Linked DNA regions of Homo sapiens: region 1 is linked to region 2. The links are contacts of gene promoters, found by promoter capture Hi-C in blood cells and fetal thymus (Javierre and others, 2016). All regions are on one chromosome and are shown on one strand. Each heading gives the region's core, a stretch centred on a gene start or on the middle of the fragment in contact. The rest is flanking DNA. Distances are from core to core; before and after follow the strand shown.

What was found. Contacts are between HindIII fragments. The CHiCAGO score rates a contact against its expected background, and 5 or more counts as called.
Region 1: a contact is called between a fragment that was not itself captured here and the fragment with the promoter of ST8SIA3 in region 2, in 1 of 17 cell types (endothelial precursors). The highest score is 6.3, in endothelial precursors.

The regions. Positions count from the first base shown.
Region 1 is chr18:57,123,668-57,130,285 of GRCh38, reverse strand. No RefSeq gene overlaps it. Among named protein-coding and RNA genes, the nearest start is that of BOD1L2, 20 kb to the left of the region's middle. The HindIII fragment of the contact is 598 bases long and covers 3,963-4,560 here.
Region 2 is chr18:57,349,730-57,356,282 of GRCh38, reverse strand. ST8SIA3 (ST8 alpha-N-acetyl-neuraminide alpha-2,8-sialyltransferase 3) reads right to left here and starts at 3,726. Exons shown (of 4, transcript NM_015879.3): 1 at 3,258-3,726; 2 at 1,759-1,881. The coding sequence starts at 3,436. The HindIII fragment of the contact is 6,120 bases long and covers 1-5,083 here.

The DNA.
Region 1 (6,618 bases), core at 3,012-5,511, 230 kb after region 2:
TTTTTATTTTATTTGTTGTAAAGACAGAGTCTCTCTATGTTGCCCAGGCTGGTGTTGGACTCTTGGCCTCAAGCCATCCTTTCCCTTCCACATTCCAAAGCCTGAGATAGGTTTGAGCCACCACACCTGGCCATCTAGCTTCTTTTCATTTCAATCTGAGGGACAGACTTCTCCCTTTATCATTTCTTGCAGGATAGATCTAGTGGTAAGAAACTCTCAGTATTATTTTTTGAATGTATTAAGAAAATAATATTTGGGAGGAAACAAACACAGAAATCAGAGACTTGACTGCCCCAGCTGTCTGGAGGCGACTTCAGAAGTAAAATAAGCCATCTCTACAGGCCACTTCATCACAAAGCTCTAACAAGGTTCTTGGAAACCACAACAATCTCACTGAAGACCCATATGGTACATGAGACATAGTTCCCCACAACCAGAGAGAACTCCACAAGAGCTCTGCCACTTAGTCCCTGTGAGACTTGGGGAAGTGAACTCACCTTCACCTTTTATAACAGGATCCTGTGTTTCCATATGGGAAAATGGGGAGGGGCTGATTTTAGGTGAGGGACTACCAACCCAGGTGCCTTAAGCCTTCACCAGAAGTGAGCTAGGCCATTGGGTAGACTGTTCAGGAATAAGAGCTGCCAGAGCTGTGAAAGACTGTTCACCTATTCCTACTCAAGAATAGGAACAGAGCTGCTGGCACTTCCAATTTTTAAAGAAAATCCCTCAAACTTTATTCTTATTTGAAGGCTCCTGATGTAAAATATTGATGATGAATTCAGCTTAACACAAATAAACCAAGAAACAATCCAAAACACTACAAAGGTCAAAAAAGACACATCCATCATGGGGATATATCTGGTCACCAGTTCACGACATCTGCATTATGTGATCTCTGAAGTCTCTTCAAGCTCTGGAACTTTGCGATTCAGTGATGTCTTGTTTCTCCTCTTGAGATGTGACATGTACAATAGGGAAGGTCAAACCGAGGTGCTTTCTATCTTTGAGGCAACACTGGTGAAGGCTGGAACCAGCAACAGGTGACATTCTCAAGCCGATGAATTTTTCTCCAACTCCATAGCGAGCCCTCAGCTGACTCCCTATCCTGTGTTTAACACGGCTGTGCTACTTCAGGCTCCCATCTCGCTGAGGGTGCCCATGTCAGCCAATGACCTTTGTTACACCCCAGTGCCTTCAGGTATATAAATAAGGAGCTTTTCTATCCAAACTGGACAGATAAGATGTACTATACTTGCATGTCACAAAGCAGACATGTGCAGTAGGGTCTCAGCTATAGAGGAAGGTGAGGTTCTGGAAATATTTTGTGAAAAAAAAGACTGTGTAAGTATGAGAAGGGTCATCAGATAATATCAGCTTTTACAGATCGGGGCTTCTCAGAGGGATGCTATAAAACACTCTTCACAGAGGCTCAAAAGGAGTATTGATTTTTTTAGGAGCAGAAGGGGTCAAAATTACATGTCTTGCACAACAGCAGCCACTGCTCTGCCACTCTGGACCTTTCTAACAAAGAACAAAGTCAGGAACAGGCAGAAAAATAGAGCTGAGAAGGGAGACAAAGAGGAAGGCATTGTCTGGTCCTGGCAAACCTTCCCCCGGACGCTGTATTAAGGCAAGGTGAAGCTCTTCAGCAATACCGGAACCTGATTTTATGTGGTGGCTGCTGCAGTTGACAGCCATCTCTGGGGACCTGCTGTGTGTCTGCAGGAAGGCGGTGGGAAAGGTCACCACAGGGCGGGCTGTGGCCCAATGGCACTGGCAGCCAAAGATTTCCCAGGTTGATGCACTTGATCCTCCAAGTAGATAAAATGCCCAGAAGGCACCAGACATTTTCATAGTCCAGCAGGATGGTGCTGAAATCAGCATTGCAGAATCCTGATGGCATGCCCCTCAGAACAAGAACATGGATACTTGCCGGTGTCTTTTGCTCTGGAAGGGTGGACAGGTGGAAGGGAGAAAGAGGTTGCTCTTGTGTGATTGCAAAAGAGGACGCAGCACCTATGTCCACTATGTGGCCTGAGAGAGGTCCCTTGCCCAAAGGGGTACAGGAAGACTTCCTTAGGAAGGAAGTTGGATTTATGTTTTGTTTATTTGTTTGTTTGTTTGTTCGTTTTCTGAGATAGGGTTTCACTCTATCACCCAGGCTGGAGTTCACTGGCATGATCACAGCTCACTGCAGACTTGACTTCCAGGATTCAAGCAATTCACCCACCTCAGCTGCCAGAGTAGCTGGGACCACAGGTGTGGTGACCACCATGCCAAGCTAATTTTTGTATCTTTTGCAGAGGCAAAGTCTTGCTATGTTGCCCAGGCTGGTGTCAAATTCCTGAGCTCAAGCAATCCAACCACCTTGGTCTCCCAAAGTGCTGGTATTACAGGAGTGAGCCACTGTGCCCAGCCCAGAATTTATAAATCAGAAGGTCACTTTCCTGGGGGCTGCAGCCAGGAAGCTATTAGAATGAATTAAACCAGCGAAGCTCTGGGAGTTAGCAACAGAGCAGAGAAGCAATCAATGGCATCTTAATTCTTGCTACCTCCTGGAAGTGTGGAGATCCTATTCTTTACTTTTTCTTCCCTCCCAGGTTCTGTCCAGTTGATAAGTAGACCGTATTTGCCTAAAAATGATCAAAATATTTCCTACTAAACCCAAAGTGTGAGGGTCTGAGAAGGTTCATCTGTAGAGCCTTCAGGGAACCCTACCTGCCACCCAAATGTGAATGAACCTGGGTGGAGATGCTGGGAATTTGAAGAGAAAGCACAATGTAATGGACAGCAGGCAGGATTAGGGGACAGCAAGAAAGATGGGCCCATGTTGTCTGTTTCCATGGAAGGATCCTGCCTCTGGAAATTGTGGCCTCGCAGATCCAGACTCCAGCTGATTGCACCACACACCCTGAAGGAGGTGGAGAGCAGACCAAGAGTTCACCCCAGCACTACTCCACCATATGGAAACCTGAAGGTGAGGAAGACAAAGGTTCCTCCACCCTTCACATACACACCAGAGCAGGGCTGGGCCATCAGATAGGTCAGAAGCAACGTGAAAAGGGCTAAGCTCTAAAGTTAGACACCAGCTTAAAACAGAGTGGGATCAACCAGTGAGAGGCTGTGGGTCATACCCGCTGCCAACTAGTGAGTGAAGTCAACCTGCAGGGTGACACAGCCATGCAGGGGGAGCCATGAAAGTTAGGGTCTAAGGAGCTGGAAAAGAACCAAGGAGAGAAAGGCAACAACAGACAGACAGAAGGGATGGCTATGATTGCACAAAGAACTTCCCTTCCTTCACAAGCCCACAGCTGGGTCTCTTGCCACTGCCTCAGCAGTTCTTTTCCCAAAGCCTCAGTCTCTAAGCCTGGCATCTGGATATGGGGCAAATGCAGACAGAGAAAGTTTCTGGTTAGCAGGAGAGAGCCCAGAACTAGCATCACTGGAAGCCCAACCCAAGGTGGTCAGTGACCAGGGAGTCTGTAAGCATAGAATGACTGAGACAACAAGGGCAGAGGTCGGGAGGGTGCATTGTGATCATGGGGAAGAACGGAGCTGGATCAGGTGAGAAAGCCCTGGAAGTGAGAATAGTAGTTAAGCTCCATGTTGTGGCTGTATGGTGAAAAGTCTGACCTAGATGCCAATTTCCCATACACTGAGCTTCCAAAAATGTCCAAGCATATGTCTTCGGGGCTTGATTTGGACAAGATCTGACCAATATAGTAACCATTTTCTGAGCAGCCTGCATGGGCTGGGTCCCAGGAGAGCCGTCTCAGATGGCCTGAAGGCAGAAGGAGCCTTCAATTTAAGGAGCCACCTGAGCTTCTTTCCCATCCGAGGATGGTGCTAGTGTGAGATTCTCCCTAGACTGAACATTAAGGAAAATGGGAATGTCCATGTTGACAAATCAGTTCAAGGATGGAAAAAGATTCTGTTAGAAGGTGAGACTTTAAGAAGCTTCTATACAACAGTAAGTTCTATTCATCTACGTTTCTCAACTTTGTAAAATTTCATCAGTCAAATCCTTTTGCTAAGACCCCATCTATTTCTCTGTTTATGGACTCCCTCAACCTTCCTTAATCATCCCTTTATGCTGAACTCGAGCTAAAATATTTATAACATGATATTATTAGCAAAGTTCATTCATTAAGGTAATGTTTACACTTCCATTACCAGCCAGTAGTGGTCTTTCATTCATGAAGTTCTCCTTTTGCCACTAGTCCTTAATGCAGATCACTGAACAATTAAGGGCTTCCTGTGCGTGGAGTTGTTCCAGGTTGCTCAGGTCTTCCGTTGGTGCCTACACTCAGGTCAGTGTTTTCTGAACAACTTTACTCTTGGGAAGGCTCAGGACATACTTCAGGTAATAAATGGTTTCTGTCACAATGACACCACAGACGGAATCCTGAGAAAAGATTTCACTAATGGCCCTGCTGGTTTATGGGGATTAGCCTAATCTCTCCCACCAGCAGTTCTCTTTCCTCTCTCTACCTGGGGTTCCTCTAGTCGACCCACGACCACTGTGAGCAAACAGTGGCCACAGGAAGGAAGGAAGCTTATAGGGACTCAGTCATGTTTGAAAACTGAACACAATAAGGCATGTTTATTCTGCAAAAAGTCCCTGTGTAAAAGGTAAGAGATGAGGCTTTGCCCTTTTTTGGAACTTCAAAACCTCACTGGGCTTATCCACTTAACAATGGAATGAAGTTCTACAAGAGAAGATAACTTCCCAGTGTCATGGAGCTGGCGCAAGAGCCCAGATTGGACTCTTCAACTCTCCAGGCCTATTTTCACTGCACCACATGTTCTTACAAAATGGGAGCTGGCCTTGGAGCTAGCCATTTGGAGCGGTTACCAACCTCCAGAAATTAATAGAACCCAAGACCAAGACCTCACATAGTTCGGCAAGGAGAAGCCTGAAAGTATGAGGGGAAAGCTACAGTGGACCTCAGGACAGTAAATGCTCTAAAAAGATGCTAGGTTCATGAATATTTCTTCCCCAGCCTTGAATGACCCAATGATTCATTTCACAAATGAAGAAACTATGGTTCAGAGAAGTTAAAAGACATGGCCAGGGTCATTCAGCCAGTTACCTGACTGAAATAAAGACCGTGCGACCCCATCCTCAGTCCAGTGCTCTCTGGCACACTGTCCTCCCACATCCAACTCATTCATTTAATAGCACATATTTCTGTTGCTTGCCAACTTGAGAAAAGATGAATGTAAATTGTTTTTTAAAGAAAAGAGGGCAGGGAGAATCGCATAGTTCCACTTCTAGGAGCTTATCCTGCGGATATATTCATATATATATACATATATATATGTATATATGTATATATATATATCTGTGAAACAATGTGTATACAAGACTATGCACTGCATTTTTTGTGGTAATTATTTGAGACAACTTAAATGTCCATCAGTAGGGGATTATTGATATAAGTTATGGTGTATCTATGTGGTGTGTCTATGCAGTGATTAAAAAGAATGAAGCAGCTATAATCAAGTGTATGTACTGCTATGAAAGACCTACAAGCTACAATGTTAAGCAAGATACACAACAGTGTGTGTGCTATGCTGCCAATTTTGCAGTGTGTGTGTGTATGTGTGTGTGTGTTTGCCTGTATCAAATAATTCTAGAAGAATGTCTAAGACACTGGAAACACTGGTTGCCTTTTGGGTGCCAATGCTTGGCACTTAGTAAATGCTCAATGAATACTTGTTATTGGAAGGAAAACATCCACCTTAACCAATATTGGCTTTCAACAAGGCATAAAATAGAAGTCTATGTATCCAATTATTCTCATTCCCTAACATTGACACCGGGGCCCACGTCCAGATTCCTGGGCTTTATGGAGTGAATGTCCTTCTGTAGCAAACATCTTTGCAGCCTGACACATCCAACTGCATTACAGCAAAGCCCAGGAAGCACAGCCTCTGGGGCTGGAGCACTTAACTCATAATGCCAAGAGGAGAGACTCACCAGCCACATTTGTTTCTCACAGGAATTCTTAAAATCTTTCCTAGACACCATCTAACGGGAAGTGAAAAGTGGCCAAGACAAAGACTCCAGTAAAAAAGACAGACTCTTTTCTCAAAATCACAGGAAAGAGCCAAAAGCTGAAACACCTTTTTAAATTTAAAAATGTATCTATTTATCAAAGAACTATAGGCCCCCATGGTGGAAAGATCACTCCCTTCCAGGGCCACACCTGGACAGCCCAGCCTATGGGATTATCCGTCCCCACCACAGCTTGCCCGTGGATTCTTCTTCTTATGGATTCCTTGTCTCTATTCTCCAAAATGATAACTAGTAAGAACTGAATAAACAAAACATGCTAGAGGTTAGATTCGTGGTATTAACCTGATGGTTTCTATTTTCCAAGAGTTGAATGTTTATTAAGAGCAAACTAACAATAAAGACATTACACCAAAACTAATAGTGGCCAGTGCTTATATGGCACTTACCAGGTTCTAGGCACAATTCTAAGCACTTTACCAAAGCTAATCTATTTAATCTTCCCAACAATCTAAGGATGTCAGTATTATGATTGTCCCCACTTTACAGATGAGGAAACTGAGGCTAATTAACTTTCCCCAGGCCCACGTTTATTA
Region 2 (6,553 bases), core at 2,477-4,976:
AACACAATTTAGTTGAATAAATCTAATCCTTAGAAAACATGGCTATTATAAATCCTGAAAATATTTCCATATTCTAGCAATTCAGTACATAAACAAGGCAAGACTGATACTTAGAACTAATTTCACGTTGCTTTCATATTGAGCTTTAAGTAAAATTAAGTATCTCTTCTTAAAGTTTAGCTATTTAAAACATTCAAGAGAGACTGGTAACATGCTACTGCTGCTAGATTCTCCGATGTTAAGTAAACCCAGTGAATTTCTTATAACTTTTGCCTAAATGTAGCAGGAATGAAATGAAATGCTTTGCACATCATCCGTTGCTTGGAATTTTAATTTAAAAATGACTTCATTCTTCAAAATAGAGGCAACAGCAACTGAAATCTTTGAAACTCCCCAAGTTACCAGTACCACTCTTACAAGTTGTTAAAAAGGTAAGGCAGATTTAAAATGCTACTGGTAAAAATTTAATGAAAGATTATCTAATTAATTAAAATGAGCGAAGTTTTGAGAAGGAAATATTCTTCTGACTGGTCATTTGGGTCACATGGCCTAGTGTGGGAAGAATATTTTTTATTGAGTTAGAAACATGTTTTGGGGAAAGCTAGAATGTGTTCTACCCATGAAAACGTTCTGGGTTGTCCATAAAATTAATATTGAATTAAAACCCAATTATTAAAAAAACACTTCTAGAGTTTTAGAATTGATCAATTTTCATGAACTAATTTATAATTAAACATAAGTGTTTTTAAAATGTTAATCATATGACTGTATGCTGACTTTTCATCTGAACAGTATTTTCATGAGACCATGAATACCCACTGAATTTGTTTTAATTCTGCCCATAGATTAAACTTTTAAAAGAGAGAGAGAGCAATAACTAGAAATGCTAAGATCAAAACACAACTCCCTAAATAGAGTGGTTTGTAAAATAAGTATTCACACTTCTAATGAATACGCTAGATGGCTCACATCCCATTTAGCAGTAAAATAATCCCACCATGAAGGAAGGAGTAATGAGTTATCGTGGTTTGCTAAGAGTAGACCAGAATCACTGAGCAGAATAAATACATTTGAACAAATCTCATCCTTCTTCCACCTAAAAAAACAAAACCTCAAAACCATCTTATGTGTATAAAATGAAACCGCTACAATTAGTAGGAATTAAGTTAGGTACCTTTACAGTAAGTTAAAAGCTGTAAAGACAATGAAAACAGGCAAAACCAAAACAAAACCATAGTTAAATATCTACATACATTTGGGCCAGCATTTTCACGAGTAATTTGATGGAGACAGATTATGGCATTTTCCGTGTGTTTCAAAGAAACAATACCACTTTATTCTATTTTTCAAGTTTTTTTCAGTGAGGAAATGAAAATGCATTGGGTGGTCTTTTTGCAACTAACCTTTTGTCTGTTTTTTTTTTTTAAATAGATGGCTTTGGCAGTACTTGCCAGACTTGTTAGCTGTAAATCATGGTGCTCAATCAAGCCCAAGTGGAATGCTTTTTTTTTTTTTTGCTATTCAAATTGGTCCTGATATGTCCTTTTTATGAGAGGACACTACACACACAGGAGAAGGTTCCTGATCATTGCTTTGTGCAGTCATGCCAAGAAAACAATGCAGATACACCTGATGGTGAGGGTGGGGCGTATAGATGTTTGTTGTTTTAGATGTTTTTGTTTGCTTGTTTTTGTTTTGTTTTGTTTTGAGCTCTTGAATTCTTAAAAGCACCTTTTGGATCTTTTCCTCCTATCCTACCTTTGATGTAAAAACGCTGTCCGATTAAATTTCCACTTAGAAGGTTTCTCTTGGAGTTCCTGGGTGAGAGAATTCGTAATGGGCACGAATGACGGGTCTAGAAACTTCAGCGCAAATTGTGACCTGGAGAGGAGCATGAGCACAGACAAGCGTGCTGGCCTCAGCTCGGGGAAGCCGAGGTAGCCATTAAAGTGCAGCGGCTGGGGCGAGGGCGGCTGGTACGCGTGCGGGCTCCGTTCCGTCCCGGAGCCCCTCTCATTTGGTCCACCCTCTGCTCCCACACACACCCGAGAGAAAAAAAGAAAACTAGGGAACCCCATCTGCATTGTCCATCCCTCCGGGTGCCGGAGAGACCATAAAATGGCCGTCATGCGGAGAGCAGGGCGCACGCCGGGCGCAGGGCTGGAGCCCGCGGCGCTGCGAGGACCAGGGAATCAGCACCGCGGACAGCGGCCGCCCCGCCAGCCTGACCCGCTACGCCTTTGCAGCCCCATAGAATTGTTTTTGGAGAAAGGGCAGAGGAAACCGGAGACCCAGGGAAAGTCTGGGGGTGGTTCCTGCCTTAACCTCTTCCTTCCCAAACCCACGTCCGATTTCACTTCCTATAACTTGGCTGGGGACCCCCGGGGGCCGCCGGCCTACTCCGCTCCTCGGTCCAGGCGAGGCTCCTCTGGGTTCCTCGCCTCGGTCCCAGCTTGGACCACAGGTGGCACTTTGTAGTTGCCACCTGCCCGTCAGGAGGCCCTGCTGGGAGAGTTCCCGGGGTCACAGAGCGGGGCGGGGGCTCTCGCAGAGCGGCGTCAAGCTGCGCCTGGAGCCTTCACAGGCCGGCCCAGCGCGGAGCGGTGACTCCGACCTGGCGAGGGTGGGCGGCCCTTCCGAGGCTCGCTTCCCGCAGGGGGCGGGGGAATTGCAGAAATCCCGGAAAGCTGGTGGGGGGCGGTGGCTGCGGGGGAAAGGGTTGAGAGAGAACGCCCCAGGGGCTTCCTGAGAATAAACCCGCGTGTCCTTTGATAGGCGTGGGGGAGTAAAGGAGGAGGGCGCGAGGGGAGTCCGGCGCCTGCGCCATTAAACCGCCAGCACCGCCCCGGGCCCGGCCCGCGGAGTCTGCGGACAGGGCGCGGGGAGGGCGCTCCCCTCACGCCTGTCCATCTCTGCTCGCCGCCCCCTCCCGAACAAACACACCGTCTTTCCCTCCACCCTCACCCTCCTGAAAGCCTCCCCCAACCCCCATTTCTGAAATGAGGGAAGGGATGCTGAGGAAGAATACGAGAAATGCAATCACATCGATTTGGACAGCGGCTTCTAGGGGCTTTGGGTTAAAAAAAAAATAACAGGGAGGGGGAAGGGAGAATTAGAGAGAGGAGTGGAAGGACCGCGCAGTTATCTGGCCCAAAGAGTCTCGGAGAGGCCAAAACACCCCTCCCCCACGCCTTCCCTTCCCCAAACACCCCATCAACCAAATTCCCGAGGGCACTAACACAGAGGCCCGCACTCACCGGAATCCCGCGTGGAACATGTACATTCGGGGCGCCCCCGGGCTGGCGTACTTGGGAGTGGTGAAGATGTTCTCCTTTTTCAGGGACACGTAGCTGATGAGCGATAAAATCAGCAGGGCGACGCTGAGCATGACCAGCCCCAGCACACTGGCGACCCGGGCCATTTTGCAGTTTCTCATCCCGGGCTGGGCTGGGTTCAGGGAAACCGGGGAAATCGGTCCATTGAGCGGCCAGCAGCTCGCTGGCGTGTATATATGTGTGTGTGTGTGTGTGTGTGTGTGTGTGTGTGTGTGAGCGCGCGCGCGTGTGGCGGAGGAGGGGGACCCGGGCGGGGGTGGGGGGAGGCCACCGGGGCCGGGGGTTGGGGCTGGCAGGAGCCCCGGAGAGCAGCGGGACCCCGTAGGCAGGGGCGCGCGGGGCCCGGTGCCGAGCAGGAAGATGGAGGGGCTGCGCGGCGGCGTGGCGAAGGAGCGCGCAGCGCCGTGCGTCCCCGGCCGCCGGCTCAGGCTCCCCCGCGCGTTTCCAGCGAGGCTGCCATCTCCTCCGCCGCCTGCAAGATAAATGTGATTGGAATAATGTTACAGTTCGATCTAAGCACAGGATTTAATTAATGAACTCTAATCTCCCAAATAACCGGGGGGAGGGGGTGCAGGAGAGGGAGGGAGTAGAGGGAAATGGTGGAGGGAGGGGGACTGAGGCTGCCAGGCTGCAGCCCGAGCCTACGGCCTCCCCGGCTGAGGGTGCCGGCGAGGAGGTGGCTGTGGGGAGACGGGATCCCAAACTTAGTTTAATGGACCATTCATTACTTTATAATATCACGGAATAGAGAGACAAATAACCGGATTTGCTGTCCTGGAGGGTAAACAACAGCTGGGTGCTTCTCAAAGAAGCAGGGAGGATGGTTTTTGGAAGGCAGCTATTTAAAAGCATCTCCCCTCGTTAAGGCACCGCCCCGGCCCCCTGCCCCCGCCATCCTCCCACCCCAAAGGAAGCTCCAAACAGCAACTGGGCCTGCCTGCCTCGGGAGCCCTTAAAACCTTCTTGGAATTTGCCAGAATGACTCCCCTGTGCGCCTTGTATGCCCACCACATACTTCACTTATCCCTAAAGGGTGGGTAGTGCCTAGCAAAGTTGCGAGGTGACCTGTGAGTCGGGAGGGCCTGCCTTCCTCTCCCCTTTCCGTCTTCCAGTGGATGGACAATGTGCTTGCCCCTGACTTGACTGGGCCTGTTGAAGTCAGCCCTGGTTTAACTCTCCGTTGCCCACTCTTCAGATCCATCCTTCGGGCCTGGTCTCCTGATGGGCTAGGTGGCCTGAGCCTCCCAAAAGCTGAGGCCATTAAAAAACACAGAACTTTTTATGAAGCAGCCCAAGAACCAAATAATAGAGGCTGCCTCTGAGAGTGGAAGGCAAACGCACTAACACTTTGCATTGCTTGACCTTAAATTTATTTTAGCATATTCACGTGTTTCTTGTATATCCATTAGAAATACAAATTAATCCATTTTCAGTCATGCAGTTGGGTGCTCAGGGGAAACTAGCATGTTTCTTTAGCTCTGTCCTTTGCAATTAGCTTATGGCCTCTGCTACCCTAGCTTTACTCTTCGCTTGGTCCTCCCAATACTAGTTAATAAGCACTAATGAGGGAAGCTAGGGGTGAGAAATTGGCGTTTGAGTTCTGATAAAACAAGTTGAGATTCTTCCAAGATGGTTATGACTTCTTTCTCTCCTGAACTTCTTGCCTTGTAGGCTTTCATGGACCTAATGTTATTATCTGTCTGGAGGCTGTAAATTCCTTGAAGGGGTGAGCTCCTGGATTGTAAGCTTCGGCAGAGCAAGGCTTGTCTTACTTCTCCAATACTGTCTCTTACACATGTCATGCTTGCTAAATGTTTGAAGACCTGATGAGCTCCCTTGGGAAACATATCTGTGTGGTTGTGGACAGTGGCACAAAGAATGCTCCTATTTGTTTCCAGTGACAAAGGGGGTCACTTTGCACCCACTAGAGACTTTTTAACCAAAATCTAAAAGTGTGTGTCAGGAGGACACAAATAACCTCCTTTCCTCTGTGGGGCTTTTTTATTATTTAAAAAAATTTAGAAAAGGCTTGCATGCCTGGATATGATGAACACTTGAACTGTATTTTTTTAAATTGCTATTTTTTAAAAATGATTGTATGAGTAAGGTGTAAAATGCCAAAGGGAGTAAGATCTTAAGAGAGCCATCTAGGAATGACACCTGTTAGAAAAAGTCTTCTTGAACCAGAAATCAGGAAACATGCTATGGAGAGGCAGCCTGGGGTAGTGTTACACCTTCAGACTGTGGAGCCAGAAAGACCTGACTTCAAAAGCATACTCTGGGTATTATCAAAAACACAAAAAATAACAAATGCTGGCAAGGATGCAGAGAAAAGGGAACTCGTATACACTGTTGGTGGGAATGCATTCTAGTACAGCCACTATGGAGAACAGTACAGAGGTACCTGAAAAAAACTACAAACTGAACTATTATAAGATCCAGTATTCCCATGACTGGGCGTTTATGCAAAGGAACGGAAATCAGTATGTCAAAGAGATATCTACCACCATGTTTATTGCCACATTGTTCACAATAGCCAAGATATGGATCAACCCAAGTATTCAACAACAGATGAATGGATAAAGAAAATGTGGTATATATACATAAAGGAATCCCATTCATCCATAAGTAAGAATGAAATTCTGTCATTCTCAGCAACAGGAATGAGCCTGGAGGACATTATGTTAAGTGAAATAAGCCAGGAACAGAAAGTTAAACACCGCATGTTCTCACTCATACACAGAAGCTAAAAAAGCTGATCTCAAAGAAGTAAAAAGTAGAACAGAGAATACTAGAGGCTGGGAAGTGTACGGGGGAGAGAGGATAAAATATTTATTAAAGGATACAAAATTACAGCTGGATAGAAGGAATAAGTTCTAGTGTTCTATAGCACTATAGGATGACTATAGTTACAATAATGTATTGTATATTTTCATATACCTAGAAGAGAAGATATTGAATGCCCCAAAACAAAGAAATGATACAAGTTTGAAATGACAAATATGCTAATTACCCTGATGGGATCACTATGTATTGTATGTATCAAAATATCACTATGTACCTATATATGTATGATTATTATGTATCAATTAAAATAAATGCTTACTCTGGCATCCACAGCCAGGTGACCTTGGGTAAGTTACAACTTCTCTGTGTTTCAGTCTGCTAATCTGCAGAACTGGGATAAAAATCTCCCAGGGTTTGGGGGAAGATTAAAC